6 separate regions of the Homo sapiens genome follow, and all the other regions are linked to region 1. The links are contacts of gene promoters, found by promoter capture Hi-C in blood cells and fetal thymus (Javierre and others, 2016). All regions are on one chromosome and are shown on one strand. The core of a region is centred on a gene start or on the middle of the fragment in contact, and the rest is flanking DNA. Distances in the headings are between cores, read along the strand shown. Region 1 holds the start of NSUN3 (NOP2/Sun RNA methyltransferase 3). Region 2 holds the start of ZBTB11-AS1 (ZBTB11 antisense RNA 1). Region 3 has its middle 3.6 kb from the start of SENP7. Region 4 overlaps LNP1 (leukemia NUP98 fusion partner 1). Region 5 has its middle 6.2 kb from the start of TBC1D23. Region 6 overlaps C3orf38 (chromosome 3 open reading frame 38).

Region 1 (2,945 bases), core at 421-2,920:
TTGTGGTCATTCTCTGGAAATACCTGAATTCATTCCTGAGCGGCGGCCTGGGCAGGTCCCCGTTCTTGCCGATGCCCATGTTTTGGGACACAGCGACGATGCAGTTTAGCAAAAGAAACATGACAGCAGCGGTTAACACCTCCGAACTTGCTGGCTACGCCAGGAAGCCAGGCCAAGAATGCCGCGAAATTCCCTTCTTCAAATTTTTTTACGTGCCTACATTGCAAATACAATACCACTGTATTAATTAATTGCAACATTCTGGAATGAACATAGAAAAATAAATTATATAAAATATATTTATAAAGTATAAATTTATAAAATATTTATAAAATATAAATTTATAAAATTATAAAAAATACAGAGGCTGAAAGGTTAGACCGACTTTTCCACAAACATTAAACAGACGGCATCCAAGAGATGGCATCATTTCATTCCTGATTATCATAGTCTTTTGTACCAAATCTAAATTCTAATAAGATGCATTTTTTAGGTGACTTGGAAACTTGTTTAAATAAATAAATATATTAAGCTTCAAATCAGATTAGAAGGAAAGACATGTTTTTACATGAATATAAGACTTGTACCTATAGCATGTACGTATATTGATATGAGCATCAAGGAACAACTCAAAATGATGATTATTAACTATCAGGGACCATATCAAACCGGTTTTTTCTAATTGCTGATTGCTGCTACAAATGATAGTTACTGAAGCATGACACCAAAAGAGCAAATAAACTTCTATTCGTGTCAAAATAGGTGTAATAAACATCTTCCTTGGAGAACCATTAAACATTGCTCCCTTGTAAAGGTGAATTGGGGAGGCTAGAGTGGAGGGTCCTTTTGGTCTTCACGCATTTGGTATCAACGCGACAAAAATCACAATGATCACAATAGTGAAAATAATAGCAGCTAACATTTGGGCATTTACTGTTTCCTAATCACTGTTGTAACCGCTTTACATGCCTACTTCAGTTTAACACTCTCCATTAAAAGGAGAGATTATCCCCATGGGCCAGGTCTGGGGAAAAGCATGACTTAATTTCTTTTTCATTATATTCCACCCTTTTATCCTTGGGTACTGAATGTCTAGGTTAACAGGGGTCACTAGATTTGGTAGATTAAGTCAGTAACTAGCTTCGCTTTGAGAATATTTTAAATCAGTCATCATACAACATAACCCCAAAACTCATTCCTTTATTGAGCCCCATGCATATACACACTGTTCAGCACAATATGCGACTTTTTATTTATTTTTGAGACAAAGCCTCGCTCTGTCGCCCACGCTGCAGTGCAGTGGCGCGATCACGGGTCACTGCAACCTCAAACTTCTGCCCAAGCGATCCTCCCACCTCAGCATCCGCAGAAGCAGGGGCCGCACAGGCGCGCAGATGTGTGACTTTCTAAGGTCCGGCCGCCCAAAGCTACGCCGACCAATCCAAGTAGCGAAAGTCGCTTTGGCCCTGGCCCGTTACCTCCGCGTCCTGGGAAGTATCAGCCTTTACCAGCTACCGGAAGTAACTGCGCACGAAATCTCCCGCGGGAGCTAAGCCTCTTCGACAAGAATTCTATAGCGCGAGCAAATCAGTATCTCGCGAGAAATTGAAGAGGAAACGTGAGAATGAAAGTGGATGCCCGCGAATCCCGGAAGTCAGACTGTTTTTTTCAGTTCCCTGGAGGCTTTTTGATACTGATTCGCGTACACCTGTTGTTTGAAAGCTCTCAGCGGGACAATGCTGACCCAGGTGAGACCTGGGGCCCGGCTGGGTACCTCTATCTGAATGAGACGCTTCTGGACGCGGCCGAGGTGGCGAGGGAGGGTGCTGGGATGGGGGAACATCACCTTTGTTCGTCCCCTCGCGAGATCAGCGTTTCTTTGGCTTTACTGTCAAGCCCTGAAATAATGCTGAGTGCTGTAATGCTGAGTCCCTTCCGTCCAGCTCGCAGACTTCTAGTACCCACTCCCTCCAGCTCTTGGAGGGCTGAGATTTGTTTTCTGTGTCACAGCGGTATCCCGGGAGCTTAGAACAGTGTCTGTTACATAGTAGGCATTGAATACACGTTTCTTGGATGAATAAATGAAACAATTGCAAGGAAGTTCACGATGAAATTGGAGTGACTTTTCTCCCTAAATTAACTTTTCACTTTAAAATAACGTTGCAAAGATAGTACAGAGTTCTCAAATACCTTTCACCAATTTTTCTTGATGTCAGCATCCCCGGTGACTTTTTAGTTTTGTTTAGATACAAGTTCTTGCTCTGTCACCCAATCTGGAATGCAGCTGCTCCATCATAGCTCACTGTAACCTTGAACTCCTGGGTTCAAGCGATCCTCCAGCCTCAGCCTCCCTAGTAGCTAGGACTACAGGAGCAGGCCACTACGCCTGGCTAATTTTTTTTTTTTTTTTACTTTTTGTAGAGACACGTCCTTGATATGTTTTCCAGTCTGGTCTTGAACTGGGAAATGATCCTCTCGCCTCGTCCCTGCAAAGCATGAGCCAGCTGGAGTACAGTGGCGCGATCTCGGCTCACTGCAACCTCCACCTCCTGAGTTCAAGCGATTCTCCCACCTCAGCCCCCTGAGTAGGTGGGGTTACAGGCGCCCACCACTACTCTCGGCTAATTTTTGTATTTTTAGTAGAGACGGGTTTCCCGTGTTGGCCAACCTGGTCTTGAACTCCAGACCTCATGTGATCCTCCCGCCTCTGCCTCCCACAGTGCTGGGATTACAGGTGTGAGCCACCTGCCTAGCCCCTACAGTGACTTTTTAAAATTAATTTTGTTCCTTTTGACAGTTTCTTCAGCCCCAGTAGATTCTGTTTTAACCTTTGCTTCACATTTGGAAAATAATTATTTGGAAAAACCTTGCTTTTTCATAATTAGATAATGTACAGTTTTGGTACATGTAAGGTATTGCTTCCATTTCAAGAACTAGTAATTATC
Region 2 (2,945 bases), core at 196-2,695, 7.6 Mb after region 1:
ATCATCTGAGCCTAGGAGGTCGAGGCTACAGTGAGCTGTGATCGTTGTCACTGCACCAAGCAAGACCCCCTACGCTCTGTCTCCAAAAAAGGGAGATAAGTATTAAGGTTTTATGAAGGTTAAATAAATGTCAAGGGCTAACGACTACATCCTGCATATACAAGCTTGATCAATGTTACCTATAGTTACAATTATCATCTTTAACAAATCCTGAAGTATTAAATCTGAGACATTTGTTCAACAAACTAATGTCTACCCAAACCCATCCAAACAAAATGCACTGATTACTTCATTACCTCATAATTTAATCTTCGCATTTGTCTGTCCTTACAGGAATTTAATTCAGATATTGGTTTAAAGTGGAAAATAAATGGAAGAATTTGATTATCCAATAGTTCGTAAACGAATAAACTTGATGATGTTTATAAACCGAAAAGAACTTTAGAAACTATTCAGTAATTTCGTTATTCACAGACGAAGTAACCAAGATTTGAATGAAATAACTTTTCTGTAGCCATATTGGAGAGTGACAGCACTGTTCCTAACAAAATTTCTTAAATGGGACTATAAACTATTAACTAATTCTGACAGTTTGAATATTCATTAACTGTGGAGAGTGAAGATGGTTAAGAAGCCAAGGACACTTGCTATCCTCCCTTACAACTGGTTCCCAAGGAGTCAAGTAACTTCAGAGCTGTATTTTTTGACAATCAAAAAGTCACAGTAATCGTACCTTTTCTGCGTATATACAATGCTACACAGTTCCCAAACGCGTTTTTCACATCATTAGGGGAAAGATTATTAAAACATTCAGAGTTACGAATATCAAGCTGGGCGCCGTGGCTCATGCCTGAAATCCCAACACTTTGGGAGGCCGAGGCGGGAGGATGGCTTGAGGCCAGATGGAGACCAGCTTGGGGAACGAGGCGAGACCCGTGTCTACTCAAACACCCCGCCCCCGCAAAACCAAACAACAAAAACAGTAACTGATATCTTTTACATTTACTTCTTGTTCTTAAAAAAAAACGCTCAAGGCGATTTCTCAATCACTCCTTATCACTTCTGCAAATAATTGTATTATTCCTTATTTACGCAGCAGCGGCAAAATTTGAGGAACACTAGCGAATGTGTCCAGAGCAGCTCATACTCGCTCGCCAAAACCCAAGCGCAGCACTAAAGAAACGGGAGACCCGGCTTCGGGTGACTCGTCCCCCCTTCCAAACGTCAGCACAGTCGAAAACGTGCACCCCGCAGCCTCCACTGCCGCGAGCCACACGCCACCTCCAGAGGGCCGGGGCCTACAGCCTCAAGGGGCCGCCCAAGGAGGCGGACCTGGCGCAGCCCAGGCGTCCGGCCCCTCCCCGCGGCTGGCCCGGCCTCCGGGGAAGCCCCCTTGGTCCCACCCAGGGCCAGGGCCCGCCCCCAGCTTCGCCGGCCTCCTTCCTGTGGGAAGTGCGGCTCCTTTCGCGTCCCCCACCCTCTCGGCTCCGCCTGGCAGCAGCTCCGCCGCCCAGAGGCGTCCGAGACCCTCCGACTCGTGGGTACGCATAGGCCTCGCCAGCGAGCCTTGCCCAGGCAACGAGTCGCCAGCCCGCCCCCTCGCCGCGGGCTAGGTCTCACCTCGCCACCAGTACGTCTTGGACAAGTAGTGCCAGGTCTGATGCCGGGTGTGGTGAGTGCCGCCGGGACCCAGGTGCGCCGCCTCGATGAGGTCCCGGCGTCGCTCCGGCTGCAGCACCACCTCCAGCTCCGCGAAGGTCTTGCGGTGCCGCTGCCGCCGCTGGTAATACAGAGTCCCGCCGCGCACCACGTAGCAGGCGGCAGCTTTTCGGATTTTACGCTTGACATTGCCCTCGGTGCCCGGCGCATACGGCTCGCGCTCGTTCGTCAGGTAACGCAGGATGGCCCGGTAGCTTTCCTCGCTTGACATCGCGGACCGCGGCTCCCTGAGGGCGCCTGTCAGGGACAGGTGAGGAAAACGGCCCGCTACCTACGGGCGGCTGCAGGAGGAGCGGCGGCACCGTAGGGAGAAACGGCTGCGCCTTTGGCGAGCGCTCTTCGACGGCTCCCTTAGTCCGAAGGAAAAGCGGGCGAGTTGGTAACCAGGGGGAACTGCACTTCTCCAGCGCGCGGGATCCGCTGGCGACTGACAAAATGGCTGCTGCACCACCGGAAGTGACGCAAGGCAAGGGCGGGGACTGAGCCCTGATTGGAGCGCACTCTCGTTTTCTGGCTTGATGGAGCCGATCCAGTGACGTCAGGAATGCGGGTGGACATTTTGGAAGCGGGTAGGACCCTTCACTGCAGTTCGAGGGAGTCTTTAAGCAGACATCTTAAGTCCTGGCAGTTTCTCTTTTCATTTTTCCCTTTTCCACGCTTTCTAAGGAGCCACGTGTAGGGGGAGCTGGTGGACAGTTGAGAGTTCAGCCGAAACATCCAGAGGGTTAGGAGTCCGTTTTTACGTTTGAGACTCCCAACATCATAAAAGCATATTTTCAGGCTTCTGGAAAAATATTAGTCTCTTGACACGGGACCAGAGACAGCCCATTTACATGGAAATTTAGATTCCAGTTAACAGTTATAAAATTTTCAGTGCCTCCCTCAGTGATGAGTTATTGTTTCTAAACTTGCACCTGCTAGCTCCAGACTACTCAAGGAAGAGTCGAGATTCTTTTGGAATTATCAGCATTTATAGTCAATGTTATTGCGAGTGGAAAAGGGGGTCGGTAACACTATTTTAAGGCTTTATTTACATATATTTTTACACAAACGTAGGGGAAAAGGTTCTCCATTTTGCACCAAATATATATGAGGGTGCAAGAAGGGGAGCGGACTTGAGCTGCGTCTCCCAGTGCGTGCTGAGGATGCTAATACAGGTATTTAGCTGGTAATCCCGGAGCAGCGACCCCGGTCACCCTTTCCTGGGACGAATCTGCAGCGCTCAC
Region 3 (2,945 bases), core at 446-2,945, 7.5 Mb after region 1:
GGTACTGCGGCCTGGGCGACACACAGATACCCTGTCTCCAAAAAACATAAAAAATAAACTTCCCAGACGATTCTGTTGCATACTCCAATTTGGTAAAACCAACACTTAGTGACATCTGCTTTTTTCTTTTTCCTATCTCTAATATTCTTTTTTCTATGTGTCCTTGCCTCTGGTGGATTAAATACAACTTTTTTGTTCCCTAGGGAGAGGTGAACAGTGAGGAGGGACATTATGTACTTTCATCTTATTTTGAAATTTCTACAGATATAATTTCACAACCACTATTATTTTCTACAATTTACTAAATGGAATTGTAATACAGGCATTATTATTTTTCTAAAAAACTGCATAATTGCTTTCTGTGTTGGGAAAAGAAAAATAGTGCTGCTTTTGTACCAAAACAGTATTCTTTCTTTCAAACATATTTTCTAGAGGTTTTTTGTTTTGTTTTGCTTTCCTAAATATGAAAATAAATGAAAACTTACTCGTTGTAAAAAAAAAAAAGTATCATTAGATATTTTTAAATATTCTGAGTAAAAGTATTCTCCATTCTGTGCTTCTTAATGGCATGGTATATACAAAAGGACCTTGTTCCTAAATATAAAAAAGGATTATAATTACTGTATTAGATTATTACTCTGTAACCAGGGGATTTCCTAACTTCTCAGATTATAAAATTACTTCTTATAAAAGCTTACTAATCACCTGTGAAAAATGTAAATATTGTTAAATGTAACCACTTTTGATCCTAGAAAGGAAAGGGGTTCCTTAAAAATCCAAATACGCTAATTAAAGTTATTTGCATCTATGATTCTGGTGTCCCACCCACCCTCTTCTTTAAAGATAATCACACCTAACCTAGAGAAGTCAAATTCAGAGAGATCGAAAGTAGAATGGTGGTTGCTAGTGCCTAGGATGAGGAGAATGGGGAGTTATTGTTTAATGGGTATAGAGTTACAGTTTTGTAAGATGAAAAGCATTCTGTGGATGGATGTCAGTAATGGTTACACAACAATATGAATGTACGTAATGCCTCTGAACTGCACACTTAAAAATGGTTAGAATGGTAAATTTTGTTATGTATATTTTCACAATTGTTTTTTAAGAAATAACCACACCTAGAACAAGTCATTACAGCTGTGTCACCACCTAATCCAGGATACTGGAAAAGCCTAATTTCAAATTTTCTTTAATGCGTATATGCTGTTCTCCTTTTTTAAAATTTTATTCTGCGTAAAACGACTGGAGTACTTGACATAGGAAACAAAGTGCCTACCAAATGGCCTCACTAAATTTTTGGTAAATGAATGAAATAAAAAGTCAAATACTATGCATTTTTAAATCTTTGGTAAAAACTAATCTTGGAGTGGGAGGAGGGTGAGCGTTGTAAAACTACCTATCAGATACTATGCTCGCTACCTGGGTAATGAAATCATTTGTATACCAAACCCCAGTGACACAAAATTTACCCTTGTAACACATTTGCACATTCCCCCGACCCTAAAATAAAAGTCAAAAAAGGGGAAAAAAAATCTTCTCTCAGGCTCCTGGGCTGCCTCAGTTACTTTGGGCATGCCACTTTACCTTTGAAAGCCTCAACTTCTCCATTTATAAAATAAACATGTTAGCTAAGAATATCAATAAGGTCCCTTCTAGCTCTAACAATCTTATTCTTGAAGGTAAACTATTGAAGGAAACCAGAATGTCACCTCAAAATATGCCTTTTTTTTTTTTTCCCGGAGACTGAGTTTTGCTCTTATTGCCCAGGCTGGAGTGCAATAGCACGATCTCAGCTCACTGCAACCTCCGCCTCCCAGATTCAGGTGATTCTCCTGCCTCAGCCTCCCGAGTAGCTGAGATTACAGGCACCTGCCACCATGCCTGGCTAATTTTTGTATTTTTAGTAGAGACAAGGGTTCAGCATGTTGGCCAGGCTGGTCTCGAACCCCTGACCTCGTGATCCACCTGCCTCAGACTCCCAAAGTGCTGGGATTACAGGCGTGAGCCACTGTGCCAGGCCAAAATATACCTCTTTTATATAAAAATTATTTTTGAGCTGAAGGCAATTAAGGAGGGAAAGCTCGCTCTCTCCTTTTTCTGCCTAAAAGGCAGGACATAAATTCTGTCTAGGCTCTTACCAGCCCAGAAAGCCCCAGACGAATCTGCAAACAAACCTTACTGTATTAGTTTCCTTCTGTAGATTTACATTCCCACAGTTTCTCACCCTTGGAAGCCTAAAACTCTTTCCTTTGTTCTTTCTTCTCTCCAGAAATTTATTGTTCTTCGTTGAAGATACTTACATAAGCCAGAGTTGTAAGCCACTGTTTTGAGTTACTCCGCATTTACGTTTCTCTAAGGTGATATGCGCTGCATGCATTAATAAACTTCTTTGTTTTTCTGTTGTTACAAGGGTTCATTCCAACTAAGAACTCATGAGGGTTAAGGAAATAATTATTTTTCCTCCCCTACACTATCTTATTCTAATCCAGTCTTTGGAAAATTAAGCATAAAAATTGTTTGATTCTCTCCCTTTTTATTTTGATGAACCATGTTGAATTTGCTTGAGAGATGGTTTATCTTTATTTGCAAAAGACAAAGCATATATAAATTGATGGATGGAATATTCTTTAAGAATAATTAATAAACCTTTGACATTTATTAAGTTTAGAATTATAAAAGAAGTCTCTATAATTTTTCAAAAGCTTTGCATCTTTCTCTTATGTATTAATATATTGCTAGAGGACTTTTAAAGTGTGCTTTACTTCTTTATGTGCTTGGCAAAAAATTGTAAAATTCTAACAATATTTAAGTGCCTACTGTGCACCAGACGCTATTCCAAGAACTAGAGATACAGTAGTGAACAAAACAAAGTCCCTGTTCCTGCTGTCATAGAACTTACATTCTAATGGAGAGAAGTAGACAGTAAGCAAACATACGTCAGTTGG
Region 4 (2,945 bases), core at 273-2,772, 6.3 Mb after region 1:
ATTGAGCACTTGAAATGTAGTGTGACAAAGACTACAGTTTTCATTATTTAATTGATTTAAGTAGTATCATGTGGCTAATGACTACCATATTGGACAGCACAGCTCTAGATATTCCTCAAGTGAGGAATTTATTAGAATATGTCTTCTTCTTTATCTTCAATCTCTCCATTAGTAACCAAAGTAAATCTCATTGCTTCAGGTACCATTTCTGTGCAGATAATCACTGTCTATATATCTTTTGGCATAGCTTCCCTTTTTACCTCTAGCCCTATATTTCTTACTACTTACTGAGCAGTTTTGCTTGGATTCCTGACTTTTGTCAAAAATATAACTCATCATTTTCCCCACTCATTCTTTCTCTTTGTGTTATCCTTTTTTTTTTTTTTTTTCCAAGATGGAATTTCGCTCTGTTGCCCAGGCTGGAGTGCAGTGGTGTGATCTCGGCTTACTGCAACCTCTGCCTCCTGGGTTCAAGCGATTCTCTTGTCTCAGCCTCCCGAGTAGCTGGGACTACTGGCGCCCGCCACCACACCTGGATAATTTTTTGTATTTTTAGTAGAGACGGGGTTTCACCGTGTTAGCCAGGATGGTCTCGATCTTCTGACCTCGTGATCCGCCCGCCTCGGCCTCTCAAAGTGCTGGGATTACAGGCATGAGCTACTGTACCCAGCCTGTGTTATCCATTTTTTCTAATAATACCACTATTACCTTAGCAGTTACTCATATTTGAAACCATAGACCTTTTTAGACCTCTCTCTTTTTCATCCTTACCTACCCAAGCACAAATGATTATGCTGTTGTATTTATATACACACATAAACACAAAATCAGCTGTGAAGTCTTCAACAAATTCAACTTTGTTGTAATATCTTTCTTATAGTTTTTTCACCCATTCTGACACTTCTTAGTTCATATAAGTGAAAACTCCTAAGAGTATGTATAACACATAACAGATACTCAATAAATAGTTTCTTCCCATCTTAGTACAGGCTGCTATAACAAAAATATCATAAAACTACTTAGCTAATAAACTATAGAAATTTATTTCTCACAATTCCTGAGGATGGGGGTTTGAGATCAGTGTGCCAGCATGGTCAAATTCTGTAAGAGCCCTATTCTGGGTTGAGGACTGCAAATTTGGTTTGTGTCCTCAAATAGTGGAAAGGGGCAAGAAAGTTCTCTGGAGTCTCATTTTTATAGGGGCACTCATCCTATTTTTAAGGGCTCCATCCTCATGATCTAATCACTTCCCAAAGGCCTCAACTCCTAATACTATTACATTCCCCTCTTTTTTCTCTTTTATTCATTTCCTTCATCTTGCCTAAATCCTATATTTGCTTGCTTCCCAGATAATTTCTCTGCCTCTAGTGCCTCTCTTCTATGTGTCACCCTGCACCTTGATATCAATTTACTCTTCCTATAGCATAACTGTAATTTCACTCTTGAGCTGAAAGACTTTTAAATCCTCTTCACTTTCACTATAAAGTTCAACATTTCTGCCCACCCATGCCTCCCTTCATACACCTCTTCTCTTTCTTTGGTCTACGATATTAGCACCTAGCACTATTAGAAATTACCTATGTGGGCCGGGTGCAGTGGCTTGTGCCTGTAATCCCAACACTTTGGGAGGCCGAAGCGGGTGGATCACCTGAGGTCAGGAGTTCAAGATCAGGCTGACCAACATGGTGAAACCCTGTCTCTACTAAAAATACAAAAATTAGCCGGGCATGGTGGCACATGCCTGTAATCCCAGCTACTCAGGAGGCTGAGGCAGGAGAATCGCTTGAACCCCAGAGGCGGAGGTTGCAGTGAGCCGAGATTACCCTATTATACTCCAGCCTGGGTGACAGAGTGAGATGCCGCCTCAAGAAAAAAAAAACCTCTCAGGTGTACACTTGTCTGTGGGAAAAATAAAAAAATAGTGTGATCCCCTCAATAGGATGTAAGCCCCACGAGGACAGAAACTGTTCATTTTGTACAGCCAGAGCCCAGAATATAGGTGGTGTGATGGGTAATTTCATGTGTCAATTTGACTGGGCCATGGGATACCCAGATACTTGTTTAAACATTATAAATGTGTCTGTGGTGGTGTTTTTGATTGCTTGATTTTTATTTTTTTATTTTTATTTTTTGAGATGGAGTCTTGCTCTTGTTGCCCAGGCTGGAGTGCAATGGCATGATCTCGGCTCACTGCAACCTCCGCCTCCCGGGTTCAAGCGATTCTCCTGCCTCAGCCTCCCAAGTAGCTGGAATTACAGGTGCCCGCCACCATGCCTGGCTAATTTTTGTATTTTTAGTAGAGACGGGGTTTTGCCATGTTGGCCAGGCTGGTCTTAAACTCCTGGCCTCATGATCCGCCTGCCTCAGCCTCCCAAAGTGCTGGGATTACAGGCATGAGCCACTTCGCCTGGCTGATTTTTATTTTTAGTGTATCTATTGTCGGTTTTTGCTTCAAAAAACATAGATATTACAGGTTATTTTAGACTGATAACAAGTTAACTTTGATTATTTACACATACACATGCAAACTACACTTTAACTCCACTTCCTTTCCTCAATATTTTGTGCTTTCAATTTCACAATTTAAGTATTTTTATATTGCATATCCATCAACAAGTTGCTGTAGTTATTAATTTTAATACTTTTATCTTTTAGCCCTACTAAAGATACGTGATTTACACACCCTCATTACAGTATTTAAATGCTACCATTACAGTATCAGAGTATTATAAATTAAATTTAGCTATGTACGTATTTTTGCCAGGGAGTTTTATACTTTCAGATGTTTCTGTGTTTATCATTAGTGTCCTTTCAGCTTGAAGAACACCCTTTAGCATTTCTTGTAAGACAGGTCTGGTGGTGATGAACTCCCTCAGATTTTGTGTGACTAGGAAAGTCTTTATCTCATGTTCATTTCTGAATGACAGTTTTGCTGAGTACAGTAT
Region 5 (2,945 bases), core at 118-2,617, 6.2 Mb after region 1:
ATGTCCCTGCTGTATTTTGGCTTTGGATCTTTCTATTCTTTTACCTGTGTATACATATATGTATGTATATTCATTCCCTTATCCTAACCTTAACACCACACCATGCCCCTAGGTCTGAAAGTCGTAATTATAATTCAACCCAGGAAATGTATGCAACTCGAAGGCTCCTATATTGACAGGTAATGAAGGCAGTCTTTATTAAAAGTCCACCTCTTACTCCCAAAATGAATTGGCAATATGAAACTTCTTAAATCTCTTCTTGGATCTTACAGGATTAGGCCCCAAATTTAGTTCTTCCATGTTTATTTTTGTTAATAAATCCTTAGGAGCAACTCCTGTGGCCCTTGCTTGAAGGAAAAGCACCTGACATGTGAATTGGATGACTTTTGACAACGGAAGACAGGGCCATCCTTGAGTATTGGATCATGGAGGCTCCCAATTCCCCTACCTGTGAGTTGAATTCGGAAGCCACATTGAGCAGAACTGAATTTCTGAAATGAATCTGAGTGAGAATAAACCTCCCTAGCAATGTCAGACACCAGGACAAACCAGGTTTGGGGAGCAAGTCTTTAAACAAGAACCATATCTGACTGACTCTATCCAGTGGGGACACATCCCAGGGCAGAATCCCATTTGCTTGAAGTCCAGTATTGGGATAGTGAATCTTTCTCCTCTTAAAAGTTACTGATGCAGTGGCATATGGCTGGCAGACTTCAGTACTTGCTAAAAGAATACCTCATGTGTTTATGTCACACAAACCAGTATGTCTGGACAATGTTACAAATGTAGCTAAGCCACAGAAATAGTTTTCTATACAATATTTTAAAATTTGAGATGGTAAAAGGATAGGAATATAAAACCAGAAGTACATAATACTTGAAAGCAGCTGGTAAAATACAACAGGTGTCCGCAGATTCAAAAGCTATTCTTGGTAAAAAGACTCCTAAACAGTCTTCCTAAAATTGCATTATTTTCTAAGCTGCCCCTGACAGATCCCAGGGTCGTTTAAGGGACATAAGGAGCTTGGCAGCCAACTTGCTCCAATGGCTCCCCACTGGAGTTACATGAGTGCCACCTAGTGACACTTGTTAAAGCTGAAGGGGGCCCGGATAGACCATCTAGCTCAATTTACCTCATCTGAGGAAACTGAGGCCCCGATATCAGAGATAACTTAAACAGGGCCACACATCTACCTGGCTAGTGGCTGAGCTAAGGCTAGGAATCAGGCGTCTTGCTTCATGGTTCCCTCAACTGGAGATAATCTCTGGAGTTTGGGAGTCGGGAGTCCTGCCTACTGCACTGTGCCAGAAAATAAAGCCTAAACCTTTCAGGGCCTCAGGTTACCCAGGCATTAAACTCATAAAATAGTATTTGTTTCAAGTCTTTGAGACACATGAGTGTCAGAGAACAGAACCTAAAAGTTGGTAAAAGTGCCCATAGGCATTTAGTCTGCTTTCCTCCACCGTGAGTGACTGCCCCTGAAACAGGTGTACAAGTAATCACATTATTTCCTACAACCAAGGTCCAAAGTCATCAACCTTAATTCAGGGGCAATGCATCAGTTATAGCCTTTTTAGCACCTTCTGCAGGTCTGACACCATCTTAGAGATCAGTTGTAATAAAAGTATCATTGGAACCACTCAAGTTTTGATTTCCAGAAGTCAGATGTTCTGCAGTTCTCCAGTTCGAGTTTCTATTTCAAGATTAGTCTAGGCCAGTGGTCCTCAATGCTGCCTGCACATTAGCACTGCCTAAGAAACTTTTAAAACTCACCTGTGCTTGTGTCTGACCCTAGACCAGCAGAATCAGAATTCCCGGGGGTGACGTTCCCACATCGTTTTATGTGTGTATGTTTTTAAGTTCCTTGGATTATTCCAATGCTAAGAGGATTGAAAAACATAGTGCTGGGCTGAGCTTGTGCTAAGAAAGAGAAAGAAGAGATAAATGTAGGAAAGGTGGGAGGTAGATAAGACCATTCCCTCTAAATCCTGGAACAGAACTTGGTCTGTACTCAAGTGCTCAATAAATGATTGCTGAAACTTGTCCAATGTGAGGTGGTATGATGAGAATGAAGGAGTTCACAATCTATTCATGATTTTAGGATTCTTTATAGCCTCACATAAGAAACATTTACAAAGAACCACAAGTAAACTTAAAAGTAGGAGAAGCCGGTAGACATGTCCATGTAGATCAAGAAGAAATGTTTTAAAACCTGAACACTATTCAAGTCTACATTACTCTCTGCTTTCCTTCTCCTTTCCCATTTTTAACTTCTTGATTCCTCCATTCAACTCACATATTATGTATCTACAGACACATATGATAAAGGGACCGGCTATATTCCAAAAGGCTTTGCTGTCATTCTCTGAGGAAGAGACAACTGAGCTGAGCACTGAAGTAAGAGTAGGAGGTAACTAGATGCTATGTGTACATATGTTGGGGCCCAAAGGTGTGCAGGGCTGGGTGATCTTTCAAGACAGAAGAGACAGCAAAGGCCACATGTTGGGAAAGAGTATGGCTTATTCAAAGAACACAGAGGAGACCAGTATAAGGGAAAGAAGAACATGGTGTGGAAAGGGACTGGAATGTCCAGGAGGGCCTTGTCCATTTGCTTTCATATACATACATACCATGTACCACCATACCATGTACATACCAAATAGGCTGAAGACAAATGGGCTTTCTCTCTGCTGACAGATTATCACAGAATGCTTTGAAAATATTAATACTTTTTAAAATAATAAATGCTTTGAAAATATTAATACTTTTTAAAATAATAATGTTTTTTATGGCAACATTATTGTTATAGTAATAATGGGTTGGAAATGGAGATACAGGAGTTACCAGATTATAAGTGAGAATTAACAACAGAGAATTTATTATTGTCCAGAAAAAAAGTGTGAGCAAAATTATAGAGAATAAATTATTTATCCAAACTTTTGGAT
Region 6 (2,945 bases), core at 127-2,626, 5.9 Mb before region 1:
CTGGAACATTACCGAAACCATCTGTTAAATTTGAACAAAGTGATCTAGAGGCCTTTTATAATGTAATCACTGTATGTGGTACCAATGAAGTACGACATAATGTAAAGCAGGCTTCGGATAGTGGAACTGGGGACCAAGTTTGAGGTAGTGGAAATGAGACATTGCTGAACAAAAGAGAACTGGGTTTACCTGACCCTCTAAAGCGCTAAGTACTGTCAGCCTGAAAAAAATCTTCTATACAGAAACTCTTCCAAATACTATATCAGTAATGTCTGAATGATTTCAGATGTGAAAATTGACATATTTTAGTTGAAATACCTTTCTGGACTACAGACTTACATATCATGTGAATACTTACCTATTTCTACCCGAGTTGCAGCAAGTATTCTGAAAGCTTAATGCAAATAAATCCCACTTTAGATCTTACAGCTAACTGTGTGCCTTAGAAACCAGGTAATATTTTCCTTTTACTTAGTGAATATTCTGCTAATATCTGCACTTTTCATGTGGGAAAGGATTAATAATGGTCCAGGCTTCCCCTCTTTAAGTTTCATGTTTACTTTTGTCTAACTCTGGATAATTGTATTTTACAAATGCATCTCACTGTAGTATATTTTTAAAACTATTAAATATTTTAGAGATGTTTAACGTAAACTCAAAGTTCTCATTTTAGAAAATTTAAATAACATTCTTTTTGCAAAAAAGTCCAATAATTTAACAGTTGAAGAAAAACTTACTACCTCTTTAAAGATTTGAGAAACATTTTTCAAAGTTATCAGCTGTAGTCCAAGCTAAATATCTTTTGTAATCTGCAACATTTTCCTTACTGTTTTTGGGCAGTGATAAATGCTGTTCTCGAAATAGACTTTATTCTTACCTAGGCTTCAGACAACAGTTTTATAGAGCAGTTACTGTAATACAATATAAAGGAAATATGCTGTTGAAATTTTAAAGGTATGCCCAGTTCCTAACTTTTAAACGAATTACCGTTCTTCCTCTTGGCTGATCTTGGCAGAGATGACAAAAAAAACCCCAAAACAACCCATGCATGTATAATGTGTGTATACACATATACATAAGTATACATATACTCCCACATTATAACTTAGAATATTTAGTTTTTTACCTGTTACTAGGTTTGAGTTACATGGTTGAGTTGCCAAATTATTTACATGCTTTGTTTAAATTCTTCATCACCTAGCAACTGTTTGCTGATCATGGATTTACTTAGTTACTTTAATTTATAAAATTACCATTTGGAAAAGAACTCAATTGGGAAATGTGATGACGTATTGTACATGTTACTTTTTCCTTTGCTATAATCATCTAGGGAGACTGATAAGAATTTTGGAAATGGGAGCCTGGAAACTCATCTTTGTTTTTTTAATGCTATGCCTCTTACGAGGAATACGAATTGGTATGTCCTAAAATAAGAACTTAATAAAGGAGGGAAATCCCTTTTGTCTGCTATAAGAATAGTGTATCGTTCAGATTTAATTTATAGTTGTGTTGCTCTTAGAGTTTTAGGCATTTAACGAGAACAAAGAAAATTTTATAACTGCTAGTTACACTGTTATTGTAATATAATTAAGTATAAAGAAAATAGTGTGCAAAATAATTTCCTCTCATATTTTTATAAAGGTACACAATCAGGTCACAAGTCCATCTTTATCCATCCTATACCTCTGCTTGAGTTTTGAAAACTGGGTTACCTTTTATTTCTTAGTTTGAAGTTTGAAATATCATTATAAAGTGTAATAGGTAAACATCCTAAGTAAAGGATAAAATTAAAAACCATTCTTGTTACTAGAGATACTCAAAAAGGGCAGGGATTTCCTCTAGGTACCTTTAGTATTAAACTTTTGAGTTCGTGTAAAGCACAAATAAGGCTGCAATTTCTGCACATAGTTTTGAATCAACCTTAAAAATGTAAAATCTTTTTGATAGTCTTGAGATTCTTGAGGATTAATGCTATTTTATTTCATGTTTATTTCATGAATCCCTAGATATGGGCACACTACAGCCTAATATTGGAGTGAATGCATTAACGAATGAGCAAAAACAACTTATATACTGTGTACAAAAGGCTTTTCCGCTTCTAGAGTTTATCTTTGGTTCTTCTCATCAGTGTTACTTTTTCAGTCACATAGTTTCTTTGAATTTCATACTTGAATACGCAGAAACTTTTAGGCCCCCAAAATAACTCAGATTTGTGAGGAGAAAGATACTGACTTTAAAAGCCCAGGATCAGTAAGAGACCCTGAGATTCCTGAGGCTACCTGGAAAACATTACAGGGGAAGTGTATGAAGAAACAGTATTTGGAGGAGAAAGACCTAGAGGAACTGAAGTCTGTTAGTGAAGCTTGAAGCTTGATCAGCCTTTTGTGAGAACAGCCAAAAAGCACAGTGCCAGGATTGAACTCTACTTGTGCAGGATTGAACCCCATTAGTCTTTTTATGCCAGGGAATGGTGGAGAAAGAAACCAGCTGTAGTTCTCTGTTTTGATATACCCAACCGGTATTTGGAAAGTCTGGAGTCAGTTGTAAAGAAGAATACATTACAGATAATTCATCATAATTGGGTGGTCAAACTGGGGAGACCATCTGGACCTTTACTTTCTGTAGGCTAATTTGCCATAGCCTAATAACAGGGCATACATAGTAAATATCCTTTTTTGTTAAAATTTTTTAAAAATTGTAATAGTTATGTTAGGATACTTTGTTAGAATCTAGAATGTGAAATAACGTACTTCATGTGTCTTCTTACCAAAAATACCAACGATAAGGGGAAAAGCCATCTTTAATTTATTAAATCAACTTGAAAATGGCAAACAAGATAGCAGATCAGGAAATGTTCCTGGGTTTTCAGAAAGGTAACATACTAAAAGAAGGTTAGTTACCTAGTACCAACAAGAAATTGTAATAGTGGGCTGGGCGCGGTGGCT

The links. Contacts are between HindIII fragments. The CHiCAGO score rates a contact against its expected background, and 5 or more counts as called.
Region 2: a contact is called between the fragment with the promoter of ZBTB11-AS1 here and the fragment with the promoter of NSUN3 in region 1, in 2 of 17 cell types (non-activated CD4 T cells and naive CD8 T cells). The highest score is 5.4, in non-activated CD4 T cells.
Region 3: a contact is called between a fragment that was not itself captured here and the fragment with the promoter of NSUN3 in region 1, in 1 of 17 cell types (fetal thymus). The highest score is 5.8, in fetal thymus.
Region 4: a fragment that was not itself captured here is called in contact with the fragment with the promoter of NSUN3 in region 1 in 1 of 17 cell types (naive CD8 T cells); the score reaches 6.2 in naive CD8 T cells.
Region 5: a fragment that was not itself captured here is called in contact with the fragment with the promoter of NSUN3 in region 1 in 2 of 17 cell types (naive CD8 T cells and non-activated CD4 T cells); the score reaches 9.1 in naive CD8 T cells.
Region 6: a fragment that was not itself captured here is called in contact with the fragment with the promoter of NSUN3 in region 1 in 1 of 17 cell types (total CD8 T cells); the score reaches 5.8 in total CD8 T cells.

What each region holds. Positions count from the first base shown.
Region 1 is chr3:94,061,391-94,064,335 of GRCh38, forward strand. It overlaps NSUN3 (NOP2/Sun RNA methyltransferase 3), which reads left to right and starts at 1,671. Exons shown (of 6, transcript NM_022072.5): 1 at 1,671-1,748. The coding sequence starts at 1,737. It overlaps DHFR2 (dihydrofolate reductase 2), which reads right to left and starts at 1,526. Exons shown (of 2, transcript NM_176815.5): 1 at 1,356-1,526; 2 at 1-216. The coding sequence starts at 121. RefSeq lists an enhancer at 1,565-1,804. The HindIII fragment of the contact is 2,538 bases long and covers 531-2,945 here.
Region 2 is chr3:101,674,985-101,677,929 of GRCh38, forward strand. It overlaps ZBTB11-AS1 (ZBTB11 antisense RNA 1), which reads left to right and starts at 1,446. Exons shown (of 1, transcript NR_024407.1): 1 at 1,446-2,945. ZBTB11 (zinc finger and BTB domain containing 11) reads right to left here and starts at 2,148. Exons shown (of 11, transcript NM_014415.4): 1 at 1,621-2,148. The coding sequence starts at 1,930. LOC124906262 (endogenous retrovirus group K member 5 Gag polyprotein) reads left to right here and starts at 1,461. Exons shown (of 3, transcript XM_047449415.1): 1 at 1,461-2,945. RefSeq lists a silencer at 1,200-1,569 and an enhancer at 1,286-1,840. The HindIII fragment of the contact is 10,842 bases long and covers 163-2,945 here.
Region 3 is chr3:101,515,295-101,518,239 of GRCh38, forward strand. No RefSeq gene overlaps it. Among named protein-coding and RNA genes, the nearest start is that of SENP7, 3.6 kb to the left of the region's middle. RefSeq lists an enhancer at 2,883-2,945. The HindIII fragment of the contact is 2,009 bases long and covers 692-2,700 here.
Region 4 is chr3:100,404,420-100,407,364 of GRCh38, forward strand. All of the region lies in intron 1 of LNP1 (leukemia NUP98 fusion partner 1), which reads left to right. Among named protein-coding and RNA genes, the nearest start is that of LNP1, 4.4 kb to the left of the region's middle. The HindIII fragment of the contact is 5,109 bases long and covers 1-2,945 here.
Region 5 is chr3:100,253,295-100,256,239 of GRCh38, forward strand. No RefSeq gene overlaps it. Among named protein-coding and RNA genes, the nearest start is that of TBC1D23, 6.2 kb to the right of the region's middle. The HindIII fragment of the contact is 4,896 bases long and covers 1-2,945 here.
Region 6 is chr3:88,156,493-88,159,437 of GRCh38, forward strand. C3orf38 (chromosome 3 open reading frame 38) reads left to right here. Exons shown (of 3, transcript NM_173824.4): 3 at 1-1,473. The coding sequence ends at 143. Among named protein-coding and RNA genes, the nearest start is that of C3orf38, 8.0 kb to the left of the region's middle. The HindIII fragment of the contact is 1,968 bases long and covers 393-2,360 here.